Regions from separate parts of the Homo sapiens genome. Here all the other regions are linked to region 1. The links are contacts of gene promoters, found by promoter capture Hi-C in blood cells and fetal thymus (Javierre and others, 2016). All regions are on one chromosome and are shown on one strand. The core of a region is centred on a gene start or on the middle of the fragment in contact, and the rest is flanking DNA. Distances in the headings are between cores, read along the strand shown.

Region 1 (4,997 bases), core at 1,786-4,285:
TATTATTTTTCTAACGGTTTCCTCCATGAAAAAAAAAAAAGCATCATCTCTCACAGAGACAGCTCTGGCTCCTCTCCTGGCCTCCACCTCCTCCCTGCCTCCCACAGAGCAGCAGAGGTGCCATCTGTGATTCAACTGTTCTTCAGGGACGGCTTCCCTCTGTGCTTAGAAAAACCCACCCATGGGATCTGGACTCCCTGTCTGCCTCTCTGACTTCACCCATTCACTCTCGCCCACTCCAGAACCTCCCTGCTATTCCTGGGACAGGCGGTGGTGGTTCTAAAACATGCCCGCAAATTCCTGGGCACTGCTGGTGGGTGTGGCCCCACTCCTGAGTCTGGTCCAGCCTCAGCGATCTTTGGGTAACCAACAAAAGGCAGCCCCAGGCCAGGTCAGAAAATGGCCACACAGCCAGGCTCTGTGGGAGCAGCACACCGGGCCCCAGGCTGGAGGGTGCCCCGAGGATGTCTGGAGGCCAGAGGGTGGCCCAAGGAGACCCCCAGAATGGAGGCTGCCCCCAGGAGGACCCCAGGCCAGAGGGTGCCCCGAGGGCTGGAGGGTGCCCCAGGAGGCCCCCAGAATGAAGGGTGCCCTGAGGGGATCCTTGGATCGCTGCCCAGCAGAGCTTCCAGACGGACACCACCTGCCAGTGTGAGCCAGTGGGACACTGGGCCTGGGTGAGCCTCCCAGTGATGCAGTGCCAGCTGCCTTCTGACTGTGGCAGCCTGAGACTCCCATGAGCACTCAGCCAAGCCCATGCCCCAATTCCCAATACACAAAATTGTGAGCAAAATTTAAATGGTTGTCTTAAGCGGCCAAATTTTAGGGCAGTTTGTTACCTAGCAACAGCAACTGGAACATCACCTCAGGGCCTTTGCAATGGTACCTGCTGGCTTCTGCTCCCTGGAGTCACATCTCTGCTCCAATGCCACCTCCCCCAGGCCTGCCCCGGCACCCTCCTTGCACCGGACACACTTTTCATCCTGGTACCCGCTGTGTTTTCTTCACAGCAGCATTCACCGCTCTATCTCTCTATCCTGATTTTCCGTGCTTCCAATCTGTAATGGAAATGCTGTGAGGGCAGACACTGCATGGGTCTCACCCTCTCCACCCAGGCCTCAGCACGGAGTGGGTGTTCTGTATCTGTCGAATGAATGAATGAATGCGAGTCCCTGGGAGAGGGCGTCTTCGCAGGGAAGCTCCCTAGGCCCCGGGCGTCTAGCCAGGCATCTGCACCCTCCCACCCCAAGACCCAAGACCATCTCTTCCTTTCTCCAGGGACCCCATTTCCAGGGACATCTCCGGATGAAGGGCTGAGATGTTATTCCCAACTTTGGCCACCAGGTGGCAGCATATAAGGGCAAAGCGCGCTGAGGATTCCAGGCTGGCAGTGAGGCCAGGGAATGCCGGTCTGGGGAAATTTGGAAGGCACCTTTGGATGCGAGTTAGGTCCGGCAGGGAATGCAGATGACCTGGAATCCCTGGGTCCTGGGCCAGTCTGGGGGTGGGCTAGAGGTTCCCCAAGGCCAGAAAAGTCATGATAAGAAGCTTCTAGCTTACTGTGAGTCTGGACTCCCACCCCTGTCCTTTGAGAACATCATCACCATTTAAAGCTGTATCTCAAAACCAGCAGAACTATTATTTGCTTAATATTCTTCCTTAAATAGATCTTCCACAACTTAAATAAATATAGTAGGGAGAAATTTTTATTTCACCACTTTAACAGAAACCAGCCACTTGCCAGAAACAGGCAGTAACCATAAACAAATTAATTACTAATATCAAATACTTACCTGGCACTCACTGAGTGCCAGACACTGTTGCAAACATTTCCTGTATCTCATTTAATCTTCACAGCACTGAGGTTTAGGATTATCCCCCCGTACAGGAAAATGGGAAACAGAGAGGTGCAGTTAATTTCCTAATCTCCCACAGCAGTAAGCGGCACCAGGTGGGTTTGGAGTCACCACATTTTTCAAGAACAGTTTAACAACTGGAGCTTCGAGTGTGGAATAATAGACACTGGAGACTTGGAAGGGTAGGAGAGTGAGCGAGGTGGGAGGGATGAGGAATTACTTAATGGGTACAATGGACATTATTTAGGTGATGGTTACACGGAAAGCCCAGACCTCACCACTGCATATCTCCATGTAACAAACCTGCACTTGTGTCCCTTACATTTATACAAAAAACTCCAAAAAAAACCTACAGTGTAATGTAGTACCCTATCCCATGCACTCACACTGCTAAATGTTGTTTCCAACGCACTCATCCGCGCACCCAGTGCCAGCTGCACCCTCCCGTTCCCTGCTAGCCTGACTTCTGGGCAGCAAGACCCTGCGGTTAGACGTGGGCTCCTGCCCACAGGGCTAGCTGGATGTGTGTGTCTTTCAAAGGCTGGACTTTACTCTCACCTCGCCCCCTCCACCCCCCAACACACACACACACACACACACACACACACACACACACAGTCCCTGGCAAGTCCTCAGAGCTCACGTGGTGCCCAGAGAAGTTGTGGGTGACACGATGAGGCACAAGCTCCATTCCCCGGGGGATGTAAGCTGAGACCCTACCTCTCTGTGCAAAGGCTAGTGCCACCTGCATGAGCTAGATTCAGGCAGGACCTGGAGACCCTGGAGGAAAGCAAGGCTGCAGGGTAGCCTTGGGTCGGGGAGGGAGGGACACTCTTAGGCCTCTTACTGAGGGCGGGGGTCCCGGAGAGCCATGGACAGGGCAACGCTCTACTAGGCTCCTTGGTTCATCCCAGATCAGCCCTTGGGCCCCTGGCATCTAAGGCAGCAAAAAGGCAAGGGGACACCGCCCGGGGTGGGGCACGCCACCGCGACAATGCCTCTTGGCCTTGGGTGGATAATGGCACCCCTGGGCAAACCCTAGGGGCGGGGCCCAGAGGCGAGGGGCTTCCCCAATCAGTCTCCGCCCTAGCGCCCTGGACTTCGGCCCCATTCCATTGGGTGAGGGTGGGGGCACGAAAAGAGGAGCGGGCTTGCGGCCCCACCGTGTCCCGCCTCCTCAGTCCCCAGCGACTCGCAGGGGCTGGTGGGGCTGGGGTCCAGCTGCCGTGCTCCCCTGCCCTGCGCCGCGCCGCGCGTCTTGGTAGGCGCTGCGCTGCCGGGGCCGGGTCCTGGGCCAGTGCAACTCCGCCCCCAGCCGTATCCAGCGGACTGTCCTCCGCCGCGCGCCCGGCACAGCATGGGGAGGCGCTGCTGCCGGCGGCGCGTGCTGGCGGCCGCCTGTCTGGGCGCCGCGCTCCTGCTCCTATGCGCCGCGCCCCGCTCCCTGCGCCCGGGTGAGTGCCCGCCGGCCGAGCCGCGCACCCCCAACCAAACCTGGCTCCTCGCGCTTTCCACCGCGGCCTGACCCCTCGACAGCGCGGGGGACACCTGTTGTCTCCTTCCTGGCTGGGGCTAGGGGTGGCGGGCAGGGGCGCTGGTGAGGCACAGAAAGGCTCTAGACGCCCCCGCGAGCAAAGGCTCTTGCTCCTCCTCCGGAGTTACCTCCCCACTCCCAGAGCGGTGACTGTTTTGAGTCCCACAGCCGGTGCCTGGAGACCGGGGTCAGTTGTGGGGGGTAGAGGACAATTGGCCAATCCGGGAAGGCCATCTCCCTTACCTTCACCCCCTTCCCCTGCGCACCCCACGGCCCCTGGACATGAGCGCTGCTGGGCGCATGCGCATAGGAGGGGAAGCTTGGGCCACTCGGTCCGGTCCCTTGGTTGTCCTACTGTGCAGTGGGTGCCACTCCCTGCTCCACCCTGAAATCCACACTGGGTAGGGCTTGGGACTCCTGTGCACCCACTCGTGGTCTGGCTGGGGAAACTGAGGCAGTTAGTCATGACTCCGCAGAGCTGAGTGCCCTGGGCTCCACCGGTGCTGAGTCTTTGCTCTGAGTCTCTCCTCAGCTCATGTGAAGCCTCCCATCAACCCATTTCACACAATCTGAAGCGGGCCAGAGAGTGGGGAGACAGGTGTGGTGGCAACGTGCTGGCTATACAATCTACTTGGGACTGGAGGGGCCCAGCCAGCGCCCGGGTCTCCTGACCTCAGGGCTGTTTGCCTTTCCTTGTATGTGGTATGCGTGCTGGGTGGGACGACTCAGTCCGCCTCCCCACCCCCAGTGTGGGCTCTGAGAATCCTGGGCCCCACCCTTGGAACCTGGCAGACACAGTCCCAGGGAGTAAGTAACTAGGTCCAGGGTGGGCGGGGATGTTGGGCAGTGGGGGTGGGAGTGGCCCAAGACTTGAGGATATCAGGGCCTGGGGAGGCCTCTGCCCACTCCCCCTGACCCTCACACTGCCCCTTGCCCCTTGTGTGTCCAGACACAGCAGGTCAGACCTGGATGCCTCCCCAAGCCCATGGGATAGGGCTGGGGTGTCTCTTTCCAGCACCCCCACAACCCCTTCTGTGAGCTGTCTGGTGGTGTTGAGCAGACAATCTCCTGGCAGTCTGGGGTGTGGACTCAGTGTCTGTGGCTGCCACAGCCTCTGTCCACCGAGTCATTCAGTAGACAGATGTTTACCCAGTACTAAGACAGGGCAGAACTTGGTGGCTACTGGCCCCTCAGGGCTCAGCGTGGGATGTTAGAGGACACCTGAGTGCCTGGGTCCCGGGGAGTGTCTGCAAAGGAGCATACATCTTTGAGTGACTGCATGGAGTGTCTGCGTCCCCATGTCTCCGTGGGACACCTCTCTCCTGTCACCTACTCTACCCAGGTTTGAGGGATGAGAAACAAACCAAGGTACTAGTCACCTTCTGGGCTTTGTTCCTTCTGACCTCCCTCCCTCTCCTGCAGAGCCTGGGAAGAGACAGCAGGTGTTAGGAGGACGGCTCCGAACCTCCCTTCCCAGCCTCTGCGCAGGCTGGGCTCTCCACCTGGCCTGTCCTGCTCTTGGCCATGACCTCACCCAGCATCTCAGCATCTCTCTCTGTTTCTGTCAAGCGCTCTTGTACCTCTCCCATGGCCTGTCTCCAGCCATC
Region 2 (4,997 bases), core at 830-3,329, 980 kb after region 1:
AGGCTTCTACATATCACCATAAGTTAGTATAAATCTAAAGCTGAATCTGATAAGATGTACAGTGAACCCAAAAGCAATCAATAAAAAAACTCATAAAAATAAATTAGAAAATACACTAAAGAAACTAAAATCCTAACTAGAAAATATTCACTTAGTGTAAAAAAGCAAGAAAGAAGTAATAGAGAAACAAAATGACATGAGACATATAGAAATATAAAGCAAAATGGCAGATGTAAATCCAACAATATCAATAGCAACATTAAATGTGAATGAATTAAAAAATGCAGAGATTGTTGGACTTGGTTAAAAAAACATGATACAACTATATGTTGTGTATAAGAGGGCAAGATTAGATTCAGATTAGATTCAAAGATACAAAAACATTGAAAGTAAAGTATGGAAAAAGAAATATACAAACAGTACAAGAAAGCTGAAGCGGCTGTACTGATATCAGACAAAATAGAGTTTAAAACAAAAAAAGGGCCGGGCGCAGTGGCTCAAGCCTGTAATCCCAGCACTTTGGGAGGCCGAGGTGGATGGATCACGAGGTCAGGAGATTGAGACCATCCTGGCTAACACGGTGAAACCCCATCTCTACTAAAAATACAAAAAAATACCCGGGCGTGGTGGCGGGCGCCTGTAGTCCCAGCTACTGGGGAGACGGAGGCAGGAGAATGGCGTGAACCCGGGAGGCGGAGCTTGCAGTGAGCCGACATGGTGTCACTGCACTCCAGCCTGGGCGACAGAGCGAGACTCTGTCTCAAAAAAAAAAAAAAAAAAAAGAAAAGAAAAAAGTTGTTACTAGAGACAGAGAGACATTTCATGCTGATAAAAGAGTCAATCAATCAGGAAGATATAACAATTATAAACACGTATGCATTTTATAACAGAGCATCAATATACATGAAGTGAAATTGACAGAAACTAAGGGAGAAATATACAATTCAGCAATAACAGTTGAAGACTTTAAAACCTCACTTTCAATAATGGATAGAAAGACTAGACAGAAGATTAATAATGAAATATTAGACTTGAACAGCACTATAAACCAATGAGACCTAACAGACATCTCTATAGAACACTCCACTCAACAACAACAGAATATACATTCTTCTCAGGAGCACATGAAACATTCCCCAGGATAGACCGTATATTAGGCCATAAAACAAACCTTAACAAATTTAAAAGAATAGAACTAGCACAAAGTATGTTCTCTGACCACAATTGGGATAAAATTTGACATCAACAATGGAAAATTTGGGGAAACTCAGAAATATGTGGAAATTAAACACACCCTTATATAACCAATAGGTCAAAAAAGAAATAAAAGGGCAAATTTAAAAATACATTGACAAGAATGAAAATGAAAACACACCATACCAAAACTTATAGGATAAAGCTAAAGCAGTGCTTAGACAGAAATTTATAGCTGCAGTGCCTATATTAAGAAGAAGGAATGATCTCAAATCAATAACCTAATCTTCCACCTTAAGACACTGGAGAAAGAAGAGCAAACTAAACCTAAAGCAATCAAAGAAGGGGAATAATAAAGGCTAGAGCAGAAATTAATGAAACAAAGAATAGAAAAACAATAAAGAAAAGCAGTTAATTCAAGGCCAGTTTGTTGTAAAGATCAACAAAATTGACAAACCTTTAGTTAGATTGTTCAATAAGAAAAGAAAGAAGACTCAAATTACTAGAATCAGAAATTAAAGAGAAGACATTACTACTACCCTTACAGAAATAAAAAGATTATAAGGAAATATTATGAACAATTGTATCCAAAAAACTCAATAAATTAGAAGAAATGTCCTTCCATAGAAGGACAAAAACAAAACTACAGGAACTGACTCAAAAGTAAATAGACAATCTGAATAGACTTTTAACAAGTAAAGAGATCGAATTAGTAATCAAAAACTACCCATAAAGAAAAGCTTAAGTCCAAATGGCTTAATCACTGAATTTTATCAAATACTTAAAGAAGAATTAATACAAATTCTTCACAAACTCTTCCAAATAGTAAAAGAGGAGGAAATACTTTCCAATTCATTTTATGAGGCCAATATTATCTTACTATCCAAACCAGGTGAAGATAGCACAAGAAATGAAAATTACAGACCAATACCTCTTATGCAAAAATCCTCAACAAAATACTAGCAAATCAAATTTAATAACATATAAAACAAATCAAACTCCATGACCAAGTTCGATTTATCCTAAGAATGCAAGCTTGGTTTCAACAACTAAAAATCAATTAAATCACCATACCAATAGAATAACAGCTAAATGAGCTAAAATTATACTCAATGGTAAAAAACTGGATACTTTCCTCCTAAGACCAGAAACAAAACAAGGATGTATGCTCTCACCATTTCTATTCAACATTGTACTGGAGGTTCCGGTTGGGGTAATTAGGCAAGAAAAAAGAACAGGAGGCATTCAGATCACAAAGAAAGAAGTAAAACTCTATCTATTGAAGATGACATGATCTTGTACATAGAAAACCCTAAGGGCCCAGGCATGGTGGCTCACACCTGTAATCCCAGGACTTTGGGAGGCCGAGGCAGGCAGATCACTTGAGGTCAGGATTTTGAGACCATCGTGGCCAACATGACAAAACCGTGTCTTTACTAAAAATACCAAAATTAGCCAGCATTGTGGCACACACCTGTACTCCTAGCTACTGGGGCGGCTGAGGCACAAGAATCACTTGAACCTGGGAGGTAGAGGTTGCAGTGAGTCAAGATTGTGCCACTGCACTCCAGCCTGGGTGACAGAGTGAGACGCTGTCTCAAAAAAAAAAAAAAAAAGAAAATAGAAAATCCTAAGGAATCTATTAAAAAACTATTAGAACTAATAAATGAGTTGAGCGAGGTTGCAGAATACAAAATTAATATACAAAAATCAATTGTATTTTTGCTGGGCGCAGTGGCTTACGTCTGTAATCCCAGCACTTCGGGAGGTGGAGACAGGCAGATCACTTGAGGTCAGGAGTTCAAGACCTGCCTAGCCAAGATGGTGAAACCCAGTCTCTACTAAAAATACACAAATTAGCCAGGTGTGGTGGCACAGGCCTGCAGTCCCAGCTACTTGGGAGGCTGAAGCAGGAGAATTGCTTGAACCCGAGAGGCAGAGGTTGCAGTAAGCCAAGACTGCCCCACTGCACTCCAACTTGGGTGACAGAGTGAGGGTCTGTCAAAAAAAAAAAATCAATTGTATTTTTAAATAAACCTTTAATTTTAGAATAGTTTTAAATTTTAAAAAGAGTTGCAAAGATAGTACAAAGAGTTCTTTATATCCTACACCCAGAGCCCTCTAACCTCTAATATTAACATCTTCTATTACTATAGTACATTTATTTTAATTGCTGAACCAAAATATACAAGTAACAAATCAATAAACATTTGATTGCAAGTAAGAGAAGACTAAATCAAAATAGTAATAGTAGTAATTTCAATAGTGGTAGTAGTGATAACTGAATGGTCAAGGAATAATATACACTTTAGCTGAAACCAGGTCTCAAACACTGTCATCAAGATTACCTTCCTCTCTTATTTTTTCCTTTGCATGATATCAATTATATGTTTACACAATTTCAATGAACAATCCAAAATAAAATTAAGAAAACAATTTCATTTACATTGAAAACAATTTCATTTACAATTCAAAAAGAATAAAATGCTTAGGAATAAATTTAACAAAAGAAGAGCAAAACTTATACTCTAAAAACTGTAAAATATTGCTCAAAGAAATTTTAAAGATCTAAATAAATGGGAAAAATCCCATGTTTGTGGACTGAAAGACTAAACATTGTTAAAATAGCACTACTCACCAATCTGATGTACAGAGTCAGTGCAATTCCTATCAGAATACCAGCTGACTTTTTTGTAGGAATGGACAACCTGATTCTAAAATTCATATGGAATAGCAAGAGACTCAGAATGGCCAAAATGATCTTGAAAAAAAAGAACAAAGTAGGAAGAGTCAAGGTTCTTGATTTCAAAACTTACTACAAAACAAGAAAATAGAAAAATAAAGAAGAGCAGAAATAAAAACAAAGTAGAAAACAAGCATACAATAGAAAGAAGCAACATAACCAAAAGCTTTTTAATAAACCCTTAGCCAGGCGCAGTGGCTCACGCCTGTAATCTCAACACTTTGGGAGGCCAAGGCAGGTGGATCACGAGGTCAGGAGTTTGAGACCAGCATGGCCAACATGGTGAAAGCCCGTCTCTACTAAAAATACAAAAATCAGCCAAGCATGGTGGCAGGTGTCTGTAATCCCAGCTACTCAGGAGGCTGAGGCAGGAGAATTGGCTGAACCTGGGAGGCAGAGGCTGCATTGAGCCAAGATCGCACCATTGCACTCCAGCCTGGGTAACAAAAAAAGAAATCAAAACTAATAAATCCTTGACGAGTTTGGTAAAGTAAAATGAAAAAAGGTACTAATAACCAAATGCCAAGAATAAAGAAAAGAACATTGTTGCAAATCCTGAAGGTAATAAAATGATGAGACTTTGTGAATACATTTTTATGCCAATATATCTGAAAATTTCTATGAAATAAAAAATTATGAAAATATAACTTACCATATCAGAAACAAGAATATAAAATATTAAAGCTATTAGAACTATTAAACTACTAGAAAAACTAAAAATACTATTAAAAATATTTTCACAAAGGAAAATCTAGATCCAAATGTCTTCACCAGCAAATTCTACTAGAAATTTCAAACCAGAGAAGAGAAAAAGGGGAAACATTTTATAAATTGCTTTGTGAGGCAGGAATAAACTTGATACCAAAACCCAATAAAGACATTATGAGAAAGGAAATATCACTCAAGAAAATAAATGGAAAAATTCTGAGCAAAATATTAGCCAACTAAATCCAGAGATATATCACACCAAATAAAATTTATTCCAAAAAGTATAAGTTAAGTGTAAGTTGGTTTAATATCTGGAAATCATCATATTAGTAGAATTAAGTTCTTTAAAAAG
Region 3 (4,997 bases), core at 1,597-4,096, 950 kb after region 1:
GACCCCCGACACACACACACACACACACACACACACACACGTCCTACTTAAAGCTCCTCAAGGCTTCCCATCACTCACACACACACACACACACAAAAAAAACAAAAACCGTTCCCATAGTCCACAGGAACCCATAAGGCCCAGCCCCATCTGCAGCTGCACCCCACGCCCACCCCATGGGCACACCCGGGAGCCCTAGCCTCTGACCCACCAAGCCCCACCCACCATGGGCTTTGGTAAGAAGGTTGCTCCTAGGATGTTCCTTCTTCCCTCACCCACTCCACCCACCACCTACCTCGTGAACTCCTCTTTGTCCTTGGAGGGAAGCTGGGCTACTGCTTCCTTGGGAAGCCATCTCGCTTTCATCAGGGTCTCGAAGTCAGTGCTTCTGGCAGCTGTCTGTGCAGTTATTTGATTGATACCTGTCTCCTCACATAAGACTACCAGCTCCAAGAGCACAGGAAGCACTTCCTTTTATTTTATTTCACTTTATTTTATATTTCATTTTATTTCATTTTATAAGTCTACCACGCTTAGAGACACACGCACAAGCCCTCAGTGCACAGCTCACTGAATTCCCACACAGTGCGCACACCTGCATAAGGGGTGCCTAGGTCAAGACATGAAACCCAGCCATTTCCCAGCAACATGCCATGTCACCCTCCCACTGAAGGGGGACCACTAGCCTGACTTCCAACAGTCTAGCTCCATTTTGCTGGTTTTGAGTTGTATGTACATAGAATCATATCTCTGTGATCTTCTGTTGGACAGATGCCCGGACCTGTGAGACCCAATGGTGGTGTTGCCTGTGACTGCCCCTGCTTCTTCTCATGCTATGTCATGCCCCACAGGGGGATTTCCCACATTTATCTATTTAGTCTATGTCAAGGGACATGTGAGTTGTTTCTGGTTGGGGTTGTTTGAATAACACCACTATGTGCATTCTTGTACATGTCTTTTGGAAAACATATGTGGACATTTCTGCTTCACGTAGACTCAAGCATGGAATCACTAGGCCAGAGGATAAAAGTGTGTTCACCCTTCAACAGTGGACTGCCAAGCAGTTTTCCAACATGGCTGTTCCAATTCTCTGCCCTGCTGCCCGTACTTGATGGGGCTTATCATTGTCACAGCAGTCGTTCTGACACAGACCACATCTGGTTTATTCATTCTTTATCTCCGTGCCTAGTGCAGTGCCTGATGCCACATAGTAGACGCTTTAAAAGAGTAGGAAAGAGGAATGGAGGGAGAGAAGGAGAAAAGAGGCAAGTGAGGAAGGAAGGGAGAGAAGAGGAGGAAGGTGGGAAGGGGAGGGGGAAGGGAAGGAGGGAATGGGAAAGGAGGAAGGAGAGAAGGGAGGAAGGAGGGAAGGAGGGAAAGAGGGAAGGGAGAAAAGTAGGGCCTGTCTCCCACAACTGGTGTGATTCTGGCTTTAAGTCCTGCAGCAGCTGAAGCAAACATGAAGCCAGAGGGCTCCTTGGATCCAGCAGGAATTATCTCAGCCCCGGAGACAGCCCCTCGAGCAGAGATCAGAAGTCTAGAACAACACAGGTGCTTCGATCTGCCTCTGCTAAGATGGAAACTTTCCTGGAGGTTTGGCAGGAGGTAGACACCTCCGGACTAGCGCAGCTTCACTGGAAAGGAGAGACGTCATGAAGATGAAGAGAAATAGCCTGAAACAGCATGTTTCAGCAAGGAATCAAAGGCAGAGAGAGCATGGAAGGTGCCTGGCGACACCACGCTGGTGCAGGGTGAGACGAGGAGCTGCCGGGGGCAGCTGGTGGGCCCGAGGGAGCCTTCTCCTGAGGTTAGGAGGGCGCAGGATGACAGAGCCTGATGGAGAGTTCAGAAGGGGAGGATGTGGCTCAGGCCTCCATGTCAAGTGGACGAAGCATGAGAAAGGGAATGTAACAGTGGGGAGGACTCTGTGTGCACGCGTGTGCATGTGCATGTATGTGTGTGTGTTTAATTTAAACTTGAACAAAGGAAAGCAGGGATGGCAGCGCTAACATCAGACGAAGCCAACACAGTAAGTGTGGTCCAGGGGCTCACTGTATCATGACACCAACAAACACTAAAACAGCAGCACCAGTATTCAGCTCTCGAGCATTTTCTGCGAGCCAGGCACTGTGCTTCCTGTGCCCCACGCGTGCGCTTATCTCCTGACAAGAGCCTCCTCAGTGAACATGGCTCCAAGCCCCATTGTAGAGACGAGGAAACTGAGGCAGGGAAGCTCCACAGCGGCCCTGAGTGGGACGGGAGGCCCCAGCAGCCCAGCTCCAGAGGCCACACTCAGGTCATCAAAGAAAGGCTCAGTGAATCCTGATGTTCCTTTTCCTCACACTTTCATAGACCAAACCACAAAACTCATTTTTAAATGTTAGAGATAAAAGGAGAGAAGACATGACATTTTAATTCACTAATACTCATTTATGGAATATTAAGTAAGCAAAAAATAAGCACAGAGGATATGAACTATGTCATTGAGAAGATAGAATTAATACGTGAGCATTTATCATTTTACCCAACAAACAGAGAATGTGCCATTGGTGGGAAGGTTCAGGGAACATCGTTAAAAGCTGATCATATCATCAGTCCCGGTGAATATGTCAAAAAGATTTTTCAAACAGATCTTTTAGAGACCACAGTCTTGACCACAATATAATAAAGCTAGAAATACTTTCTAAAAATAGAAAGAAAAGTAGAGATTTAAAACTACTCTCCTAAATAACATCTAGGTCAAGGAGGAAATCAAGTACACAGTAACTGATAACCCAGAAACAATGAAAATCAAACCTACATATCAAAACCCACAGGACGGTCCTCGCCAGCCTCAGAGGCTCGCCCATAACTTTAAACGTGTTTATTGTCAAACCAGCTCACACACGCAAAGAGAACGTGAAGAGATGAGGCTTTCAACCTCGGATTTTTAAGAAAAGAACAAACCTGAAGAAAAATAGGAGAAAGAAAATCCTAAAGATAAAAGCAGATAAATAAATTAGAGAACATGAAAGCAGTGAAAATAACAAATAAATACCAGACCTGGTTCTTTGAAAAAAACTAATAAAATAGAAAAACTTCCTGCAAATCTAATGAAAAAAACTGTAAATGTGAAGGTCTTTCCACTTAAAATTGAGGGCTCTTTAATTTTTTAAACGCAGACAGACTATTATAATAAGAGAAAAAATCTCCAGGTAGGCCGTGGGGAGCGGAAGGGGGGCCAACCCACACCGCAGATGTCCCTCTCCCGGTGGCACCTGCAGAACTGGGGACATGAAGTTCTCAGATTCTCCTCTTTGGGATCTTAGGAGTCCGCTGCATGAAGGGGAGCACCCTTACTCTTAGGAGACATCTGGGGCTAGACCGTCCTTCAAGAGGTCCCGAGCATGTGGAATGGGCAGTCCTAGTGGTCTCCTGGGCCCATTTCACAGAAATGAATCTCAGGCTCAGCCAAGCTAAGGGCTACAGAAAGGTTCTCTGCGTTGGCCACCTGATGGCCATGCTCACATGGTTCTCTCCCGCTAGAATGGCCTCCCACCCATCTTCCATGTCATCTCTGTTCTTAATTTTCTTTTCTGATGAATCTTTCTAAGCAGGGGGCAGAGGTCTTAGTGGATTCATGTAGACCACTGGCAACTTTTATTATTGATAAAACACTCCAAGCTCCCTAGCGGCAACTTCCTTGGCAGTCGCGGAGGCCTGAATGTGAGGAGCTCCACCCAGGCCCCTGCCCTGGCCAGAGCCTGTACCCCGCTGACCCCTCAGAACCCCTGTCTCCACTGGGGCCACTTCCCCCCACATCCTCACCAACACAGCCCTTCTCACAAAGTAAATGAGGACTGTGTCATTCACCATCGGCGGGCTCTATAGATTAGGTGAGTTCATAGCCCATGGTTACCAAAATAACAGCACAAAGTAACTAAGTGGAGAGCTGACTCTAACGGCCAAGTTTGTTTTAATGCTCTCACAAATTACTTTAGTCTTGAACTGATCACCTCATTAATTTAACATTTTTACATAACTGAGGACATTATATGGGAGAATCAGTTGCTAAGATCATGTCATTTACAACTTGCAAGCGACAAAAACCCAACTCAAACCGGTTTCGCAAAACAAAAAGTAGTGAATCCCTTCCCGTGGGGCCTGGCTGGCCCTGGCTGCTGCTGATTGGTTCTACTTTCCTGAGTGTGGCCACAACCCCAGGCGGGTCCCCCTCACGCTTGCAAGACAGGCAGCTCTGACCCACATGCAGCCAGCTGGGAACCTCGCCACTTCCAGCAGCATCCTGAGGTCAGCTGGCACTGGGCCACTGAGCCTGCCAGGCCTAGGGGACGCAGGTGTCATCCCCCACACGCCGCACAGACTGACTTTGTTCTCCAAAGGAAAGCTGAAGGGGATTGTGCTGCTGGCAAAACAACAGACGCCCAGGACAGCATGTTTGCAAATTTGGAGATTCATGAAGGTCTCCGGGTGATCAAAACGCGCTCTTCAAAGAAGCAGGCTGCAGGATTTAGGGTGTCCCCTTGTGATGTCTGTTACTTACTTTCAAAGAGTTCCGCACAGAGAAAATGCATAAAGAGAGGAAAAGAGATGGAGCAACTATACAAAAATTTTAACTATTATTGAATCCAGGTGCAAGTCATTCCGATTTCTTCCAATTAGTCCTCCCATTCTTCTCTGTTTTAAATGTTTTCATAAGCAAAATGGCAGAATAGTTACCAGCTAAATTGTTTTCGAACAATAAGAAAATAATGCACATTTTGCTGATAAATGTAAGATTTATTTGTGTCAACCCAAGGCCCCCTTCCCCTGGGTGGTGAGAAAGTGTCCTCTTGCTGGAGCTTGCTACACTGAGTGTCCTGGCAGATAGGCCCCTCAGAAGACAGCCCGGCTAAGAAAGCCTCTGGGCTGGGCCCTGGGACTGTCCCTGAGCCGGGAGCTGTTTGTATACCAGCCAACCTCTGAATGGCATAGACTCAGCTCAGAGCAGACTCAGC
Region 4 (4,997 bases), core at 1,679-4,178, 930 kb after region 1:
TTGTTTGTGGGCTTGCATGTGCTGCTATAAAAATGTAATTTAAAGGCCTCTTGGACAAGACCTGAGCTCCCAGAGCATCCTGGTACCCACCAGTCCCTGGAGGCTCACAGCTGGCCACTTCATTCATGCCTATCTGTTACTCTGCAACTCCTAGAGAAACCCTCTGCATAGCTCTGAAAGATGAAAGTCTGTGCTCACCCCTAGCCCTCTCCAAACCCAGCCAAAACCCCACGTGCCTTCTTTGCCCCAGCTCTGATAATATAGTGTTTAAAATCCAGTCCATGTCCAGCTTTCCACTGAACTAGGAGCACCTAGACGTGAGGCGCCACATGCTACCCCTACATGAGAAGAGGTAGGCTCTTGGTAAATATATTTACTCATTCGACAAAGAGGTGTTGCAGCTAGGCTCTGAAGACACAGCTGTGAACAGTTTTGACAAGAGCCAAGTCTTCCCAGAGCTTAAGGACAATTAACACTTCAATAAACAAGATGGCTTAAGATGGAGAAGATAAAACAGGGTGATGTGCTGGGCCAGAGTCGGTGAATGAATGAATGGGCAAATAGCAAGAATGCAATTTTCAGTCCAACAACACAATAGGAAAATGTTATTGCCTCTAACAGGTAGGAAGATGAACCAGTGAAGAAGATACTAGTATTAGTCCCATGGTCCCAGTGAGGAATCAAAAGTATGGGGTCATACCTAGGGTCTAATCAGCCCTCTGAGTAGAAGGGCAGGGGATATACCAACTCCTCAGATAAAGAAAAATTATCTCAAAGCAGCCACCTTTTAAAAGTGTCTACTGCCAAGCTTCTGCCAGACACTTTACCCACAGGATCCTCTAGACAACTGTCTGATCATCTTTATAGGTAAGGCCATCAAGGCTCAGAGACTTGCTCAAGATCACCCAGCTGGAAAGTGGCAAGTCTGGCTGGCTCCAAGCACTGTGTGCTTTCTGGAATAGTGGGTGCCCCCAGCCACAGAGCCATACCACCCAACTTCTCAGCCTTCCAAAGAGAGCTGCCCTGAGGACCCAATCAGCCCACAGCCTGCAGCTGCTGTGCCTGCAAAACCTGCCAAGTAGCCAGGCTGAGGCCACACTCTGCTAGCCAAAAGCCCAGTGTGGCAGCAGTACCAGGGCCTGGGCATTCCTGCTCAGCTTGGGGCTCCTCTGTGGACAGTCTATCAGGGAGTCCCACTGGGCCGGAGAGATTTTCTCAGAGCTGTGCTGCAGGCTAACACTCTTCTTACCCAATCTGCCTGCCTTATTCTCTCTTCTTAGAAGGCTCAAACCCACAGTATGGTCTCAGGCAATCCCCACCCACTCCTGCTCCTTCTCCTCTGGATTTCTTGCAGGTGATTCCTGCCATAAATCCCTTGCACTTCTTGCTCCGTCATCTTGGCATCTGCTTTTCAGTGTTCCTAACTGGCACGACACATCATCCAAACCACAAGGAAGACTTCTCAGTTATGGAATCATGCAGTACATGGCATATGAGGGTGGCTCCTCTGTGCTTCTAAGGTTCCAGTGGTGGAGAAACCTCTGACAGCTAAAGCCTGGAGCCCTCTGACCATTTGCACAGCAGCCTGGCTCAGGGGAGCAGGTCCAGGCTGAGAGTCAGACAGGGCTTGGTGTCCCTGCAGCAGCTCCTTCGGCTCTCTGGGCCTCAGTCTTCCTCATCTATAAAATAGGCGTGCTGACACTTTCCCCGTAGTACTGTCTTAAGAACTGGATAAAGCACCTGCTTTGAAGGTCAGATAACCAGGAGTGTGGGATTTTAGATCCATGTCACTAGAGTCTAGATGATCAGAGTTGGAAAATGTCATAGAGCCCTACATTTTCATTATTTGTGTAGGGAACTGGGAACATGGAAGGGAAGATCTTAGGCAAGCAGGGACGGCAGGCCACAGCAGAGGCAGGCCAGGTCCCGTGGCCCAGCCCGGAGCCTCAGAATGCCTTCCATTCCCATTCAGCACCAGCTTTGCCCGCAACCACAGGGAGCCCAGGCCAGGATCCCAACCTCCCCCCTTTCCCCAGGCAACCCAGGGGGCATGGTGGGACCAGAGGGAGAACCCAGTAAGACCTGGCATTAACATGAAGACTATCTGTGGGCAGTCAGAGGCGCCCAGCCTGCAACAGAGGCCAAAGGGCAGGCGAAGGTGGAGGAGGCGGGGTGCTTTTTCTCCGCTGGTCCCATCACTGCTAATGTGGTCTCAGGGCCTCCTCTCTGGAAGAGCAAACTGACCTCCGGAGAAAACAGTTGGAACAGGAAAAACAGAGAGATGCCAGGGACCCAAGGGGCACTCAGAGACAGGGTCAGCCCTTATTGGAGTTAGAGAGGCAGACAGAAGACAGAGAGGCCCAGGGATGGAGAGGGGAAGTGCAAAACAGATGGCCGGGGAGGGATGCGGAGGAGAGGCGGAGGTGTGCGCTGGGGGAGAGGACTACCGACGGCGCTGGCGGTCGGGATGGGCTGGAGCGGGCTGCAGTCGGGGCTGCATCGCCGGGTCCCAGCATAGCGCAGGCTCGGCGCCGCACCCGCAGCCTTTGTCCTGAGCTGCAGAGGGTTCCCGCGGGCCGCCAGCGCCCCCTGCCGCCCCCAGAGCGCCGCGCCGCAGCCGAGCGGCCCCTAGCTGTGCAGAGGGGACCGAGCCCGAGAAGGGACCGAGCCCGAGAGGGGACCGCGAGGGCGGGAGGGAAGCTCCGCGAGCCGGCGCCAGCGCCACGGCCCAAACCCCAGCCTCTACAGGTGCTCACTGCGCGACTGCCTGTCCCAGGCGCTCGGGCTGGGCGCCCTCTCTAGGGCCTGGGAGCAGCGTGAGTCCCGGGGGCGGCCCGGCATGGGCCTCCCACCCCAGGAGACGCCCTTCTGGCCTGGCCCTCCCAGTCGCCTGGGCAGGACTCGGATGCCCGCGGGCTGCAAACCTCTCCCCCGTGAACCCAGCAGGGAGGCCGGGGAGGCACGCTGCTCCCCCTCTCAGCCTTGCCCAGTGTCCAGACCTTTCAAAAGAAGCCAGAAAATTCACGTTTGCTTGGGAATCCCACAATTCAATAGCTTTTCAAAACAGTGCGGGAAGAAAAGTGGGTTTGGCCCACCAGCAGCCGGCGGGCACCCTCCCAGCCTCTTCACGGACTCTCCTTCAGGTTTTGGGCGCCCGGCCCCACTAGAGTCATGTGGGCATTTCCTTCAGATCTTCCTCCACTTAAATACACTTATTGAAAAAGAAAACTCCTTTTCTCTTTCCCTATAGTAATTAGAAACTCAGCGTCCTGTGGTGTAAAAGCCAGGTAGCCTCGGAAGTGAAACAGGGCAATTAGAACAGACACAGGGCCTGTTCCGCCCCACCCTGCTGCATCTGGTGGACAAGCCCCCGGGGCTGCTGATGACCCATGCCCTCTGACCTCAGGGGAGGGGCGGGCCGACGACAGGCCTTTCTAGAAGGGCCCTACAAGCGGCTTCAGGGAGTCTGGGAACCAAAGCAGCCACCCTGTCCATGGCACTGTCCGCCCCTGGCACCACGGCCCCACCGGGAGTGGAAGCCGCCAGGTGAGGCAGGGGTGGTTCCCTTCCCCGGGGAACAATGTGCAGAAGGCATCGGTGCCTGCCAGAGAGGAAGTGGGGAGGTGGGGAGACAGAGCACAGAGAGTGACTCAGACCCGAGGGCGAACCAGAAGCTGCCCGGAGATTCCCACTGTATGGCTTCCTGCAGGATTCAGCTGTGGAGACTGAAGCCGGAGGGCCTGGGGGGAGCCGCAGGAAGCGGGTGGGCGGGGGCCGTCTGCCCCTGGACACTCAGGACAGCCTGGCTCACCACGGGGGAGGAGAAGCCAATGGAGACAGCGGGGACCAAGAGGGAGGGGGTGGATGGGGAGCCTGGGGAGGAGCGGAGGGACCCAGGTCCCCTGCCTTACAGGACGACCAGCACAGGTTCCAGGTCTCCAGCCAGCTACAGGGCTTCTTAACACACAGCACTCCCTGCTTCGAGCCTTCCGGGAGGCCCCCAATCCAGGATCAAGACCCAGCCCCGTCACGGCCTGGCTCACGAGGCCCCACTTCAACTGCCCCTGACCTCTCTGCGCCCCCTGCTCCCGCCAGCCCTGCCGGCCGCTGCCCTGGAGAAGGAGCTGCAGATGGATCCCCAGTGAGTAGGAGGCAGCCGTGTGAGTCAGGCAGCGGAGGGAACGGGCTGCATCGCGGAGAGGAGGTGCGAAGCAGCGCGCCGTTTCCGGGCTCTGGAAGCCGAGCTGCCGAGGCGTAAGCTGGGAGGTGGACATGACGGGGGAGTGGGGAAGGGCAGGCGGCGGGACGGCCACACAGCGGAATATTATGCAACTTATAAAAAATTTAATTACCTGCCTACCAATAGACTTAAAGGGATTTCTATAAGGTATTATTGGGTGAGAAAAGCAATTTGGAGATAAGAATGTAACATACGATCCCATTTTTATAAAACAATGGGCAAAAAAATCTGTGAGTTTGTGTGTATATATGTATATGTATATAGGCCTCTATAGGATTTTATTAACACAAAAGAAAATACAGGATACATGCTAGGTTGTTAACAGGGGTTTTCTTCACGGAAACCTATTGTGGGGGAAGGGGAACCAATAAAAAAAGGATCTGAGAAATAAAGACCGCCCTTAAAAGATGGATGACTGCAGCTAACCGTGTCCCCAACACCCACCCCTACCAAAGCTAGACATGGGGGAGTGGTCTCGACTATCCCCTTCTCCCCATCCCAGCATCTGCTCCTCTCAGGTGGCAGCCAGCCACTAGACACCCCCCAACACACACATGCACGTGCACACACACACACACACACAGACCCAGCCCAGTCTCCACATAGCCAACCATCTGAGGGTTCCAGTTGCCCTGAGAGTGAGATCCACTTCAACACAGACTCCAAGTTCCTTCCCCCAGCCCCACTCACCTCTGCAGGCTCAGTCCTCACTGCTCCCCCAAACCCCACCCTGCCAACTCCCTGCACTGCCAAATAG

Evidence for each region. The method cuts DNA at HindIII sites, captures the fragments that hold promoters and counts their contacts. A CHiCAGO score of 5 or more calls a contact.
Region 2: a fragment that was not itself captured here is called in contact with the fragment with the promoter of CHST13 in region 1 in 5 of 17 cell types (total B cells, endothelial precursors, total CD4 T cells and 2 more); the score reaches 8.2 in total B cells.
Region 3: a fragment that was not itself captured here is called in contact with the fragment with the promoter of CHST13 in region 1 in 3 of 17 cell types (erythroblasts, endothelial precursors and naive CD8 T cells); the score reaches 5.8 in erythroblasts.
Region 4: a fragment that was not itself captured here is called in contact with the fragment with the promoter of CHST13 in region 1 in 15 of 17 cell types (endothelial precursors, fetal thymus, naive CD4 T cells and 12 more); the score reaches 21.6 in endothelial precursors.

What each region holds. Positions count from the first base shown.
Region 1 is chr3:126,521,120-126,526,116 of GRCh38, forward strand. It overlaps CHST13 (carbohydrate sulfotransferase 13), which reads left to right and starts at 3,036. Exons shown (of 3, transcript NM_152889.3): 1 at 3,036-3,310. The coding sequence starts at 3,214. RefSeq lists enhancers at 2,360-2,860, 2,861-3,361, 3,422-3,922, 3,923-4,423. The HindIII fragment of the contact is 2,161 bases long and covers 1,547-3,707 here.
Region 2 is chr3:127,504,196-127,509,192 of GRCh38, forward strand. All of the region lies in intron 5 of LINC01471 (long intergenic non-protein coding RNA 1471), which reads right to left. Among named protein-coding and RNA genes, the nearest start is that of LINC02034, 31 kb to the right of the region's middle. The HindIII fragment of the contact is 295 bases long and covers 1,933-2,227 here.
Region 3 is chr3:127,475,372-127,480,368 of GRCh38, forward strand. No RefSeq gene overlaps it. Among named protein-coding and RNA genes, the nearest start is that of LINC02034, 59 kb to the right of the region's middle. The HindIII fragment of the contact is 8,521 bases long and covers 1-4,997 here.
Region 4 is chr3:127,453,138-127,458,134 of GRCh38, forward strand. No RefSeq gene overlaps it. Among named protein-coding and RNA genes, the nearest start is that of LINC02016, 65 kb to the left of the region's middle. RefSeq lists a silencer at 2,458-2,887. The HindIII fragment of the contact is 4,245 bases long and covers 807-4,997 here.